Regions from separate parts of the Homo sapiens genome. Here all the other regions are linked to region 1. The links are contacts of gene promoters, found by promoter capture Hi-C in blood cells and fetal thymus (Javierre and others, 2016). All regions are on one chromosome and are shown on one strand. The core of a region is centred on a gene start or on the middle of the fragment in contact, and the rest is flanking DNA. Distances in the headings are between cores, read along the strand shown. Region 1 holds the start of MERTK (MER proto-oncogene, tyrosine kinase). Region 2 has its middle 19 kb from the start of RGPD8. Region 3 holds the start of POLR1B (RNA polymerase I subunit B).

Region 1 (4,622 bases), core at 1-2,500:
TTGCTGTCGGTGTAAGTAATAACCTGTCTAAACCCATCTGGGCTGCCTGTCTCCTTCCCGTAGCCAAATCTACGGGAAGTGTCCAGCCAGTGTAGGGGTCAAGGGACCGCTTGACGAGACCAACGTAAATTGAAGAGGCGTAAGGAGATGAGGCCAAAGAGGAAAGGGGACCAGGTCACGTAGAACCTCGTAGACCACTGCAGAACCTTGGCTTACGTACGCAGAGACAGCAGGAACCACTGATAGGTTTAGGGAGATTTGAGGAGAGGGACATGATTTGGCTTATGTTATGTTGTTAAAGGGACCACATTAAAATACATTCATTCTAAAAGTGTTACCTTTAAGAAACTACGTATATAAATTAAGTTACTGTTGCCATTATTAGCGTAAGTAGTTACATTTCTCTTACGACTCACTCTCTGCTACTGCCTCTTGGACCCTGCACACCTTGTGGAGGCCCATGAGAGTGACGTGCTGTGGTTCCCCCTCTCCCCACTCCTGCTCTGCACTTTGTCATTCACGTTCATCTCCCTCCTTGAGTGTCACCTCTCTCTGGCTCGTCACGGAGCCACGGCAAAGCGTCCTTTCCCAGGAACCCCTCCCCCTGGGGAGGTGAGCTCCTCGCCGCCAGGGCCGTGTCGCGCACCTCGGGCCGGGTACCCAGGCGGCGCTCGGCGGCGAGCGGAATGGATGTGGAGGAGCGCTCGGCAGGGAGCGCTGCCGCCCTGGCCTTGGCCTCTGGGAGCGGCGCGGCCAGGGTTTTCTGTGTCAGCCAAGCCCGGAATGCGGGGGCGCCTCTGGACCCTCCTCTTGGGTCTGGGGGCTGCCTCGGGCATCCTCTACTCCTCTCCCACCTTCTGTCCTTCCCCATCTCCCACCCACACGTGTGGGGCCCCGGACCCGCGCAGCGGCCAGAGCCTTCCGCTGTGGACCTCCAGTCCACCCCTCCCCTTCACTTCTCTTTCCGGCTCCCTCCGGGTCTCTCAGCCCCCTCCCCTTCCTCTCCGCCCCCTTCCCCGCCGTCTGCCCAGCGGCGGCCTTCGGCCCGCCCCTTCTCTCCAACCCCCTCCCTTTCCCCTTTACGCCCCTCCTCCCCCTCGTCCTCCCGCCCCCTCCCACCCCAACCTGCTGGGCCCGCCGGGACTCGCCCCCCTGCCCGCTCCTCTCCTCCAGCCCCGGCCGGCCTCGGCTCGGCCCCCGGCCCGCCCCTTCCAGCCCTCGGCACCTCCCGCCGGCCGCTTGGCTCCGCCACTCGGCACTCACTGCCCGGGCCGCCCGGACAGGGAGCTTCGCTGGCGCGCTTGGCCGGCGACAGGACAGGTTCGGGACGTCCATCTGTCCATCCGTCCGGAGAGAAATTACAGATCCGCAGCCCCGGGATGGGGCCGGCCCCGCTGCCGCTGCTGCTGGGCCTCTTCCTCCCCGCGCTCTGGCGTAGAGGTGAGTGCGCCCGGCTGGGGGCCAGGCGAGGGGGTGGGGGCTCCCAGGAGGAAGCAGGGGCCTCTGGGGAGGGAGCGCGTCCACAGGGGCGCGCCTGGCTGCTGGACAAGTTTGCAAACACCCTCCACCCACTGCGGTGCCAGAGGAGGGGGCGTAGGCGAACCTACCGTCCACTGACCGCGGCGCCTCAAGCGTCCCGAGGGCACCCAGCCTGGCTTGCGGGTGCGCATCGTGGTGAAGCCGGGTCGGGGTCGGCGTTGCAGGCTCCCCTCTTCACCGCAGAGGAGGAAATCGAGCTCGGCCGGGCGCGCTGCAAGTCCTGAAGTTCCGACGAGTGGAACGTAGGTAGCAGGTCTGGTCTGGGATGCGACGAGAACTTTCCACTAGAGTTGCATGGTGGGGCCCCGCTCTGGCCGGAGTCCCGGGGGCCACAGATCCGGTCTCCCGAGGGACCGGCGCGGGGCGAACGAACGGGCTGCGGGAGTCGGAGCCGCAGTCCGGGAGCCGCGATAGACTGAGGCCGAGCGACGGGCCAGGGGGGGACGGCAGTCCTGGCTGCTCCCAATGGGCCCTTACGGGCATTATTAGTATCCCTTTTTAGGGGCACCCAGAGAGTGTGGGAAAAGGGGAGCGTTCTTTTCACTCCTGTTATGGCAGAACAGAACTTACAGTGCTCGGCAGCGTTTACGTTTATCTGGATTCAGCGAAGTGTTGTTACAGGCTTTTTTTTTTTTAATTTGAGACCGAGTCTCGCCCTGTCGCCCAGGCTGGAGTGCCGCGGCGCGATCTCGGCTCACTGCAGGCTCCGCCTCCCGGGTTCAAGCGATTCTCCTGCCTCAGCCTCCCGAGTAGCTGAGACTATAGACGCGCGCTACCACGTCCGGCTAATTTTTGTATTTTTAGTAGAGACGGGGTTTCACCATGTTGGCCAGGATGGTCTCGATCTCTTGACCTCGTGATCTGCTCTCCTTGGCCTCCCAAAGTTCTGGGATTACAGTCGTGAGCCACCGCGCCCGGCTTGTTCCAGGCATTTTAATACAAGATGCTGGACTGATACGTGGAGGCAAGGAAGGCCGGTTTCATTCTGCTTGAACAGCTTATTTGGGGAGTGAGTGATGAACAGATTTCAAGTTTGATCGCTGATGCACTTCTTGAGGAGGCTGGAATAAACTTACCAGGCTTTACCCAAAAGAAAAAGAAAGGGGAAAAATGCTAAATAAACACATTCCAAGTATTTTCTCTCAGCTAAAAGGTTTCTATTTCCATTCAGCATGTAGATTTTCTCTCTTTTGATCGAGAATGCACTTGACTAGCCTTCACCTATTACAGTCAAAGATGTTTTTTAGGAATACCTGGAAAGCTCAGTTTATAGTCAAGTAAGTTACTTAAAAGTTTTTCCTTTGAGATTTTCCTTTGAAAGCTCATTTACTCAAATGAAAAATTCTTAAACAGTGCACCCACTTTTTGCACGTTAAATTACATAAGCAATTTATAATTTGGGGCAACATAGCAATTTGAAACAAACTTTAAGAGCCAGGCAAAGAACTAAAGCAGTTCTGTTCTCCACTGCCCCTCCCTCCACCAAACCTTCAAAAATTCCTCAGCATTTCTGCCAGCCCCATTTTTCATAATCTGCTGCAAATCTGTTATTTGTTGCTACTAGTGAGGACTGGCCGTGAATAGTCTTGGAGGTAGTGAATGTGGTGAGAACTATGGAGAAAGTAATGGGAACAATAGTTTTGTGTTAAATACTTAAAAATTGGAGTGCTTTTGTTTTTCTAAAATTTTAAAAGGCTGTAATAACAAATTTTTGTAGCTGACAATCAACTTTAATCAGACAATCATAAAAAGGCCTTTTAAAATCCACCCAGCTGGAAGAATGAAAAGTTTCACCAATCGTTCTTGCACTTTTTGCTTTTGGTTTTGAACTTTACCTATGAGATGTGTGACAGTTTTACATCTCACCTTGTGAAAAGCTTAAAGAATGGGATTCTCACTGGCAGAATTACAGCACAAAGGAGTGCTGTATGAAGAAATTAAACATGGAAATTAGACTCTTCATCTAATTTTAAGATTTTCCTATTACACATTGTGGGTCTGAGTGCTTTGCTGACCACACAGGGGAGACAGAGAGAGAGACAATGAGAATATGTGTGTAGATTCTACACTGTTAGCAGTATAGAAGAATGGGTAAATAAAATTTAAGCATCACTTTAACCCAGGAAATCCCCTCTGCCCCCCAACACACATACACACTACACGTCTCACAAAGACATGCACACACAGAACTGGAACTGCCAAACCAGGAGCATTTCGAGGCTTTCCAGTCTTTCCTTTCTGCTCAGTCTCTGATGGGGGTGCCATTGAGCAGCAAAATGAGGCAAGCGGTGGCTCTCTGAAGGGCCAGGGAGAGGATGGAGCAAGATAAATATAAATGTGGATAAAAATGAATGCATTATGAGGACTTAGCTCATGACGAGGCTGTGTGTGCAGCTAAACTCAACCCTTAGAGTAAATTAGGCTTTTAAGATTCTTTAATGTTAATATTTCTTTTCCAAACTGATATTGTAACATGTATTCCAGTATATTGTAAACATCTTCCCAGAGGGAACTTTTAAGTTGTTCTGTTGCTTGTGGGCTTTATTCCAAAGGCTTCAAATGCTTTTTGAAAGTACATCGTGCATATTTTAAAAATGAATACTTTTAGAAAATTATTCTGACCCATTAAAGTGCTGAGTGGAATTCTTTTCTTTTCTTTCTTTCTTTTTTTTTTTTTTTTGGCAGGTTCTCATTCTGCCACCCAGGCTAGAGTGCAGTGGCACCATCACGGCTCACTGCAACCTCAACCTTCCGGGCTCAAGTGATCCTCCCACCTCAGCCTCCCAAGTAGCTATGACCACAGGCACATACCACCATGCCTGGCTAATTTTTTATTTTTTGTAGAGACAGGATCTCACTATGTTGCCCAGGCTGGTCTTGAACTCCTGGGCTCAAGCGATCTTCCCACCTTAGCCTCTCAGAGTGTGGGGATTATAGGCATGAGCCACCATGCACAGCTGAATACAATTTTTAAAAAATTAACAATAATTATGTTTTTTTGTTTTTGAGATAGAGTTTCACTCTTGCTGTCCAGGCTAGAGTGCAATGGCACAATCTCGGCTCACCGCAACTTCCCGCCTCCC
Region 2 (4,597 bases), core at 746-3,245, 550 kb after region 1:
CAGAAATCCACAGATCAATTGGAACTGTGCTTAAGGAGCTGTACTTGGGGAACTACACCTGATGTATCTCAACCATACCTGGACCTGATTTAGATGATGGGATTCTGGACTTAGAGCTGATGTTATGAGGTGAGGCTCTGGGGACTCTTGGAGAGTTGTAGATGTATTTGCCATGAGGGAGGGATGTGAATCACTGGGGACCAGAGAGCAGACTATGGTAGGCAGCTTCCTAGGATGGTCTCCAGTGATCTCCACTTCCTGGTATTCAACCTCTTGTGTAATCCCCTCCCCTTAAGTGTGGCCTGGACCTGTTGCTTGCTTTTCATGAATAGAATATGGAAAAAGTGATGGAATATTATTACTGGAAAGGGGTCCCGATCCAGACCCCAAGAGAAGGTTCTTGGATCTCACACAAAAAAAGAGTTCAAAGTGAATTCATAGAGTAAAGTGACAGCAAGCTTATTAAGAAAGTAAAGGAATAAAAGAATGGCTACTCCATAGGCAGAGCAGTGGTGTGGGCTGCTCGACTAAGAACACTTACGGTTCTTTCTTGATTATATGCTAAACAAGGGGTGGATTATTCATGAGTTTTCCAGGAAAGGGGAGGACAATTCCCAGAACTGAGGTTTCCTCCCCTTTTTAGACCATGCAGGGTAACTTCCAGACATTGCTAAGGCATTTGTAAACTGTCATGGCACTGATGGGAATGTCTTCTAGCATGCTAACGCATTATAATTCGTGGATAACGAGCAGTGAGAATGACCAGAGGTCACTTTCATTGCCATCTTGGGTTTGGTAGGTTTTGGCTGGCTTCTTTACTGCAAACTGTTTTATCAGCAAGGTCTTTGTACTTTGTGCTGATCTCCTATGTCATCCTATGACTAAGAATGCCTAACCTCCTGGGAATGCACCCCAATAGGTCTCAGCCTAATTTTACCCAGCCCCTATTCAATATGGAGTCGCTCTGGTTCAAACACCTCTGACAATATTACTTCAAAGATTAAGTTACAAAAGACTGTGGCTTTTTTCTTGCTTACCATCTCTTACCCTCTTTCTTGCTCACTGTAGTGAGGCCAGCAGGCATGTTGTAAACTGCCCAATGGAAAAGCCTATGTAGTAAGGAACCAAGAGAGGCTTCCAGCCAACAGCTTTTGAGGAATTGAAGCTTTAGTCTAATAACCCATGTAGAAACTGGCCAACAACCATGTGAGAGTGCTTGGAAGCTGATCTATCCCTAATCAAGCCTGAAGGTAACTGCAGCCCTGCTGACACCTTGACTGCAACCAGAGCCCAAGGATCCAGCTACGTTATGTCCAGATTCCTGACTCAAAGAATCTATGAGCTAATAAACGTAGGGGTTTTAAGCCACTAAGCTCTGGAGCAATTCGTTATGCAGCAACAGAGTGTGTAATAATTACCCTCAAACATAGCAGCTTAAAATAACAAGCATTTATTACCTCAGTTTCTGAGGATCAGGAATCCACCTGCAGCTTAGCTGGGTGGTTCTGGCTCAGAGTGTCTCACGAGGGTGTAGTCAAGCTATCCGCCTGAGCTGCAACATCTCAAGGCCTGACTGAGGCTGGAGAATCCACTTCCAAGCTCACTGTATGGTTGTTGGGAGGCCAGACACTCAGTTCTTTCCATATAGGTTTCTCCACAGGGCTACCTCACAACATAGCAACTGGCTTCCCCCAGAGCAAGTGGTCAGAGAGAGATCTCAAGACTGGCTGTCGTCTTTTTGTAATCTATTCTCAGACGTGACATGCTATCACTCTTGCCTATGATGTTGGACACACAGATTAAACTTAGTGTAACATGGGAGGGGACTACACAAGATTGTAAATACTAGGTGTCAGGGATTATTGGGGGCCATCTTGAAGGCTCATTACCAACTTCCTGTGTCCATTTCTCTTCTTCCCATTAGTTTTATCTAAGAATAGGCCAACCTGTCAGAGATTACGTTCTCTGGACTCCTTTTTAGCTAGATTGGTAGTGTGACTACATTCTGACTAAAGGCACACATATGGAATAAAGTCATGTGACTTTGGGGTTATGCCCTTAAAAAGGATTTTGTTTCTCTCCCCCATTTTTCTCTCATACCATGGGCTGGAACATAGGTATAGTGAGACTATGCAGGTAACACCCTAAGGGATGGCTACGAAAACAAAAAAGAATTTGGCTCCTTGAATTAACTCATAGGTTGCAGCAGCCTACATCACTTGGACATCCTGCCAGCTTTGGATTTTCAGAGAAATAAACCTATCTTATGTAAGTTCCTATACTTAATCATTTTTAGGTAGTTGAATCTCCTAAAAAAAACACTACAATCAGCCCACTATTGAACTGACCCAAGGATATTCAGACTACAGAATCCAGAGATAAATCAAGCACATTTCAGAATTTAATGTAAGACAATGGCACAGTATTTCAATTTAATGAGAAAATGATAGCTTATTAAATAAATTATCATGTTGATATTACCAGACAAGTTTACATAAACAAGAGACATCTTTCTGACTGTGATTCCAACCTTGCTGTCTAGTACAGTAATGATGCTCACCTTCCTCCTGACATTTAGGAGCTGTCATATGGCCCTTACTGTGCTGGGATCCTATGCTCCCCATTGCTAACAGGAAGTCCAGTTCTGTAACAGCATCCCCACCATTCTTCTTGACCTTCAGAAGACATTTGCTACCGTGCCTCTCATTGATGCTGCTGCCCTCCCACCAGTGCCTTCTTAGCTCTGATAAATGGAGTGTCTTTTTGAACTCTTTGTCCATAGTTCTGGCATCTCTGCTTCATTTAATGTGGGCCATTGATTTTTCCAAGCTTCTGAAGCTTTGCAGCGGTATATTAGAGCTTTCTTGTGGGGCTCATTGCAGGTGTTAAATCTTGTGTTATGTAAAAGATGCCCCCACCTTGAGAAGGCTTCTGTATTGGAGTTCTCCAGAGGGGGAGAACAAATAGGATGTATAGGATATACGGATATATCCTATATATATCCTATACATCCTATCAAATAGGATGTATAGGATATATAGATACATAGATATATATCTATGTATCCTAGGATATATCTATATATCTATATATATGTATCTATATATCTATATATCCTAGGATACATAGATATATCCTATATATTTGTATAGGATATATAGGATGTATAGGATATATAGATGTATAGGATGTATAGGATATATAGATATATCCTATATGATATATGTGATATATCATATATCACATATATGTATGTGTGTGTATATATATCTCTCTCCTATATCTATATCTCTATCTATCTATCTATCTACAGGAGTTTATTAGGGAAAACTGCCTCACATGATTACAAGGTGACTGTCTGCAAGCTGGGGAAAGAGAGAATCAGTAGTGGCTCAGTCCAAGTCAGAAGGCCTCAAAACCAGGGAAGCCAACAATGCAGCTTCAGTCTGAGGCCAAAGGCCTAAGAGCTCTCAGGAAGCCACTGGAGTCTGAGGTCCAAGGGCAGGAAGAGTGGAAGCCAGTGGCCGGCATGGGAAGAAGAAAGAAAGCCAGAAGACTCAACAAGCAAACTTATCCTATTTTCTGCCTTCTTCATTCTAGCCTGGCAGCTAGATTGGATGGTGCCCACCCACACTGAGGGTGGGTCTTCCTCTCCCAAACCAACAACTCAAATGTCAGTCTCCTCTGGCAATACCCTCACAGACACACCCAGAAACAATGCCAGCTATCTAGGTGTCCTTCAATCCAATCAAGTTGACACCTAATATGAACAGCTTCCTTATGCAGCCTCACCTTCTACCCAACCTTGACTCCTAGCCATTAAGATCTATTCCTAGGTACACACTACCAGTTCTCTTAATCCCTGTTATTCAGGCCCTGCTGCTCCTTTACATATAACATCTCCCTCCCTCAGCAGGGCAAGCATATCCTGAGGTAGATCAGGCTTTGAAATTCCACTCTAGTTAATGACCTTGTAGCCAGGCTGATCTTGAACTCCTGGGCTCAAGCAATTCTCCTGCCACAGCCTCTCACAGTGCTGGGATTATAGATGTGAGCAAAACATCCAGCCAATCCTTTAGAAAAGGGGTGCACCTATGATTATCAGCAGGTAAGCCTCACAGCAGCTGGGCATGGATGCACTGACCTGGTGAAGGGATGTGGGTAGAGAAAGAGCACTAGCCTCAGGGAGAGAACATGCTGACTGGCTAGGTATCTTCTATGTGCCCAGCCCTGCATCCAGCATTGGGTGTGGTCCCACTAACCATAACTGCTAAAAGTCAGGGAGGATGATTCTACACTGAAAATCAGGGCTTTGTTGCAGAAGGAGGGTACCAAGCAGACAAAACAACAGACCTTATTACAATAGAATTCTAGGTGCCAGATAATTTATTATATATAGTATGTTTGAGATGACACACAAAATCAGAGGGTCTACTATTTAAAATAATTTTGTCATCTTTCTCTAGAGAAAGAAAAAAATAAATTCTGCAAATTTTTAACTCCCTAATCATATTAATTAGCCAGAACAAACTAATAAAAAACTCTTTAGCTAAGCAGCAACGTCATTGACTTTACATCTCAGAAGCATCACAAATAA
Region 3 (4,257 bases), core at 1,364-3,863, 650 kb after region 1:
GGGAAACAGAAGAGAGCCTGAGAAGACCGCTCTCCTCCGATCCTAATTGACTGAGCCAATGAGAGCCAAAGAGGTCACATGCTCAACTGGGCGGGGAGCGGGTTTCCACCTGCGGCATCTTTCGCGAGCGGGGAGATGAGTGGGGCGGAATATGGGAGAAAGGGAGGGCCCGCCACGCTCTGGCTGGACACGGCCTTAATCGGCCCGTTCACTCGACGTTTTTGGTTCTACGTTGACCCCGAGAAACCGAAACCGCAGGGCCTAGGGCGGGTGGAACGAGAGGGAACTACATTTCCCAGCAGGCTGCGGAAACGGGACTGCGGCCACTACTTCCGGCGTGTACCGAGAGACTGGCGTCCGGCGTGTACCGAGAGACTGGCGTCCGGTGTGCAGGTGGCCACATGGATCCTGGCAGCCGGTGGCGGAACCTGCCCAGCGGGCCTAGCCTAAAGCACTTGACTGACCCCTCTTATGGAATCCCGCGGGAACAGCAAAAGGCAGCGTTGCAGGAGCTGACGCGGGCGCACGTGGAGTCCTTCAACTACGCTGTGCACGAGGGTCTCGGCCTCGCGGTGCAGGTGAGCGCGGCGTCCGCCGGCGCCCTTGCCGCGGCGAGGCCAATCCCAGGGAGGTGGCTGGGAGGTCACAGTATGACCCCAGATGCATGTGCTCCTTGATCCTGACAGGCTTGGTGGGTAAGCGGGAGAGCACAACATGTTAAACAGGACGCGGTACTGGCCTTCGTGAGACTTGGAGTCGAGGCGTCTTAAGAGATGTATTCGTGATTCTGGAGTGAAAAGTGATTGTGAACCGTAGTTTGGACAGTTTCGGGGTGCTGTGAGAGTGAGGAAGTGGCTTATCTGGGGATGTGCTTCACAATGCACACGGCTTTATATCACTTGAAGACTTACCTCTCCAAAACGTACCTCGAAAGATCCCGAACGTATTTGTAGGTACAGTGTAATGTTCAAGGTTATCCTTCAGTTTCCTTCTCTTAGAGCTTTAAAGAGAGAAACTACTCGTCATTTGTTATGAATTAAGCAGGTGCCGAGGAAGGTATAAATGAGTCATGAAAGCAAGATTGAATCGAAAAGTGTAATTGCATTATTAGCGTAGAGTAATGGTAGCAGAATTCAAGTGAGTATGGTGGGGGAAAGCTTCGTTTAGTAAGCATCCCCAGTGTCTCCAGGCACTAGGCTCAGAGGATGTGGAGGAGGCAGTCCCGTGTACGAGACAGTTCATGCATTTAAGTGCTCCCTGTCGTGTTTGGGGGTTGAAGGGGTGAAGATAATGAAAGCAGTGCATGCCAATGTTCTTGAGAACTGCTCTGCCAAGGGATTGTGTGGGCTACTGCGGGAGCCTATGGGCGGCGCAACTAATCCAGGAGTTTGAGAAAGGGCAGGATTAGATGAGTTCAAGAAGTGAGAAACGTGCATTTCGTCCAGGGGAAGAGTAGAGCAGAGTCACATGCTTCGGGGACCCTACCTGTGGTTTTGTTGGGTAAGATTTGTGTTGTGGGAGATAGGGATACAGATAATGTGGAGAGCTTTGATTGCCAGTCTGATTCTTGAACTCTATTCGGCAAATAATATGGGAGCCATTAAGATTTATTGTTTAGAAAGACTAGAGGGGTGGGGGTTATTTGTATTGTGCCTGGATTGTTACAGTATCATGTCTGTGAGAAAAAATTCCTAATTAAAAGTTAATCGGGCTGGGTGCAGTGGCTCACACCTGTAATCCAGGACTTTGGGAGGCCAAGGCAGAAGGATGACTTGAGCCCAGGATTTCAAGACCAGCTTGGATAACATAGTGAAACCCCATCTCCACAAAAATTTAAAAATTAGTGGGGCATGGTGGTGCGCACCCAAGTAGCTGGTCCCAGCTACTCGGGAGGCTGAGGTGGGAGGATAAGTTGAACCCAGGAATTTGAGGCTGCAATGAGCTATGATTGTGCCGCTGCACTCCATCCTCGGTAACAGAGTGAGACCTGTCTTTAAAAAAAAAAAATCCAATTGAGAAATTTTAGAAAAGCACTAATTTAAAAATAAGCCAGTCGGCTGGGTGTGGTGGCTCTTGACTGTAATCCCTGCACTTTGGGAGGTCAAGGCGGGTGGATCACTTGAGGTCAGGAGTTCCAGACCAGCCTGGCCAACCTGGTGAAACCCCATCTCTACTAAAAAATACAAAAATTAGCCGGGCATGGTGGCACATGTCTGTAATCCCAGCTACTCAGGAGGCTGAGGCACGAGAATCGCTTGAACCTGGGAGGCGGAGGTTGCAGTGAGCCAAGATTGCACCACTGCATTCCAGCCTGGGTGACAGAGTGAGACTCTCCCAAAAAAATAAATACATAAATAAATAAACCAATTATATGTTAACATTTTTAAGAAAAATATTTTCCAAAGCAAAAAAGAAGTTAGATGAATTGCATTATTAAAAATCTTTTTAATGTCTGGCTTAATGAAAAGACAGCTGGATTCTCATGTCTGCTTGTGCATTCAGTCCCTTGTGATAATTGTTTTGGTTGAAGTAGATGAAGAAAATTTGGCCCTGCATAGAAAATGATGCCACAACTTAGCTAGGACTATAATAATATAGTATTTGAAAAAGTTCTGTAAAACACAGTAACATAAATAACTAATACTTATAAAGCCAAGGGAAAAAATAGTTATCATATTTTTTACTTACAAAACATAATTTTGCCAAGTTTCTTTGGAGTGAATTCCTCCTTTCTGTGAGTCAGAATTTATGTGTCTGTCTTTTCAAAATACAATTGATTTTTATTACTTGGGGATTCCATATTTGCAAATTCACCTACTCACTAAAATTTACTTCTACTCCAAAAGCACCATGCCCAGAAGCAGCAAAAAAGTTGAGTTGCTCAGTGTCCATTTTCCCAGCTGAGATCTAACAAGGTGATGCTCGGCCTTCTTGTTTTAAGTTCTTAAACTATAAACAGAGGTTGTCTTCACTATCTATTTAGTGCCGTGTTTTGTGCTTTTTGTTGGTGATTTTGCTGTTTAAAATGTCCCCCAAGCAAAGTATTAAAGTATTAAAGTTCTGTATAAAGTTCCTAAGCACAAGAAGGCTGTGCTGTGCCTTTAGGGGAAAATATTAATACATGCATTTAACATAGGCTTTGTTCAGGCATGCGTTAGGGACTCAATAATATATATTAGATAAGCTGTCCTTAAACAGAAACCCACATAATGCAAGGTTGTGTATTGATCAGTGGATGAAATCATAGGCTTTGTTCAGGCATGAGTTACGGACTCAATAATATGTATTAAATAAGCTGTCCTTAAACAGAAACACACATAATACAAGATTGTGTGTTGATCAGTTGATGAAATGTGACCAGAGGCTCGCAGGAAGCTAACCATGTATTTACCCTAGGAGCAGTGGTTCAGTATTGGCTAATTCAGTGTTTATGGCAACTGTATAGAACATAACTATTATGAATAATGACAGTTCACTGTATTTCCTTCTAAATAGTGCAGCTGCGTCTTGAGAAAGCAAATTGTCTAATCTCTCTTTTTTTAACTTCATTCTGTTTTTTTTTTTGAGACAGGATCTCACTTTGTCACCTAGGCTGGAATGCAGTGGCATGGTTATAGCTCACTGCAGCCTCGACCTTCCAGGATCAAGTGATCCTCCCACGTCAACCTCTTGAGTAGCTGGGACCACAGGCGTGCACCACTATGCCCGGCTAATTTTTTTATTTTTATTTTTTGTAGAGACGGGGTCTCCCTATGTGGCCCAGCCTGGTCTCAAACTCCTGAGCTCAAGTAGTCCTCCTCTCTCGGTCTCCCAAATATTGGGATTACAGGTATAAGCCACTGCATCTGGCTTTTATTTTTAAATAAAATATGAATTTCTAAAATAATACCAGCTTTAGATAACATTTTAAAATTTAGAAAAGGTAAGTTAACTCACGTGAAGGTGGAGAACCTCCTTGGTATTCTTTCTTGGTTCCATTTTTTCATTTTCATTATTCTAAGACTAAGTCTAGGAGGTTGCTTGTAATTAATATATAGGAGAGCTTGGTGATGCCCCTTCCTCAGAACAGCAAAGCTTCCCCTACAGAATGGTACAAAGAAGTAACTTCTGTGGAAGGGGAAACCCAGCCTGGCCACCATCTTTTCCTTTGCATGGCTCTGGCTTCAGTTTGACGTTGCCATTGTACATTAAGCATCTAGTCTTAAATCCTAAAGGATGTTTCCGTATCCTTGCTCTATTAGCAGTAGTCCCATTTGT

What was found. The method cuts DNA at HindIII sites, captures the fragments that hold promoters and counts their contacts. A CHiCAGO score of 5 or more calls a contact.
Region 2: a contact is called between a fragment that was not itself captured here and the fragment with the promoter of MERTK in region 1, in 3 of 17 cell types (erythroblasts, endothelial precursors and megakaryocytes). The highest score is 5.9, in erythroblasts.
Region 3: a contact is called between a fragment that was not itself captured here and the fragment with the promoter of MERTK in region 1, in 1 of 17 cell types (megakaryocytes). The highest score is 6.3, in megakaryocytes.

What each region holds. Positions count from the first base shown.
Region 1 is chr2:111,897,357-111,901,978 of GRCh38, forward strand. MERTK (MER proto-oncogene, tyrosine kinase) reads left to right here and starts at 1,251. Exons shown (of 19, transcript NM_006343.3): 1 at 1,251-1,440. The coding sequence starts at 1,380. RefSeq lists an enhancer at 390-719. The HindIII fragment of the contact is 4,607 bases long and covers 1-3,414 here.
Region 2 is chr2:112,450,553-112,455,149 of GRCh38, forward strand. No RefSeq gene overlaps it. Among named protein-coding and RNA genes, the nearest start is that of RGPD8, 19 kb to the left of the region's middle. The HindIII fragment of the contact is 1,664 bases long and covers 1,164-2,827 here.
Region 3 is chr2:112,542,094-112,546,350 of GRCh38, forward strand. POLR1B (RNA polymerase I subunit B) reads left to right here and starts at 372. Exons shown (of 15, transcript NM_019014.6): 1 at 372-578. The coding sequence starts at 402. It overlaps LOC105373562 (a long non-coding RNA gene), which reads right to left and starts at 119. Exons shown (of 2, transcript NR_136321.1): 1 at 110-119. RefSeq lists an enhancer at 255-404. The HindIII fragment of the contact is 2,917 bases long and covers 1,156-4,072 here.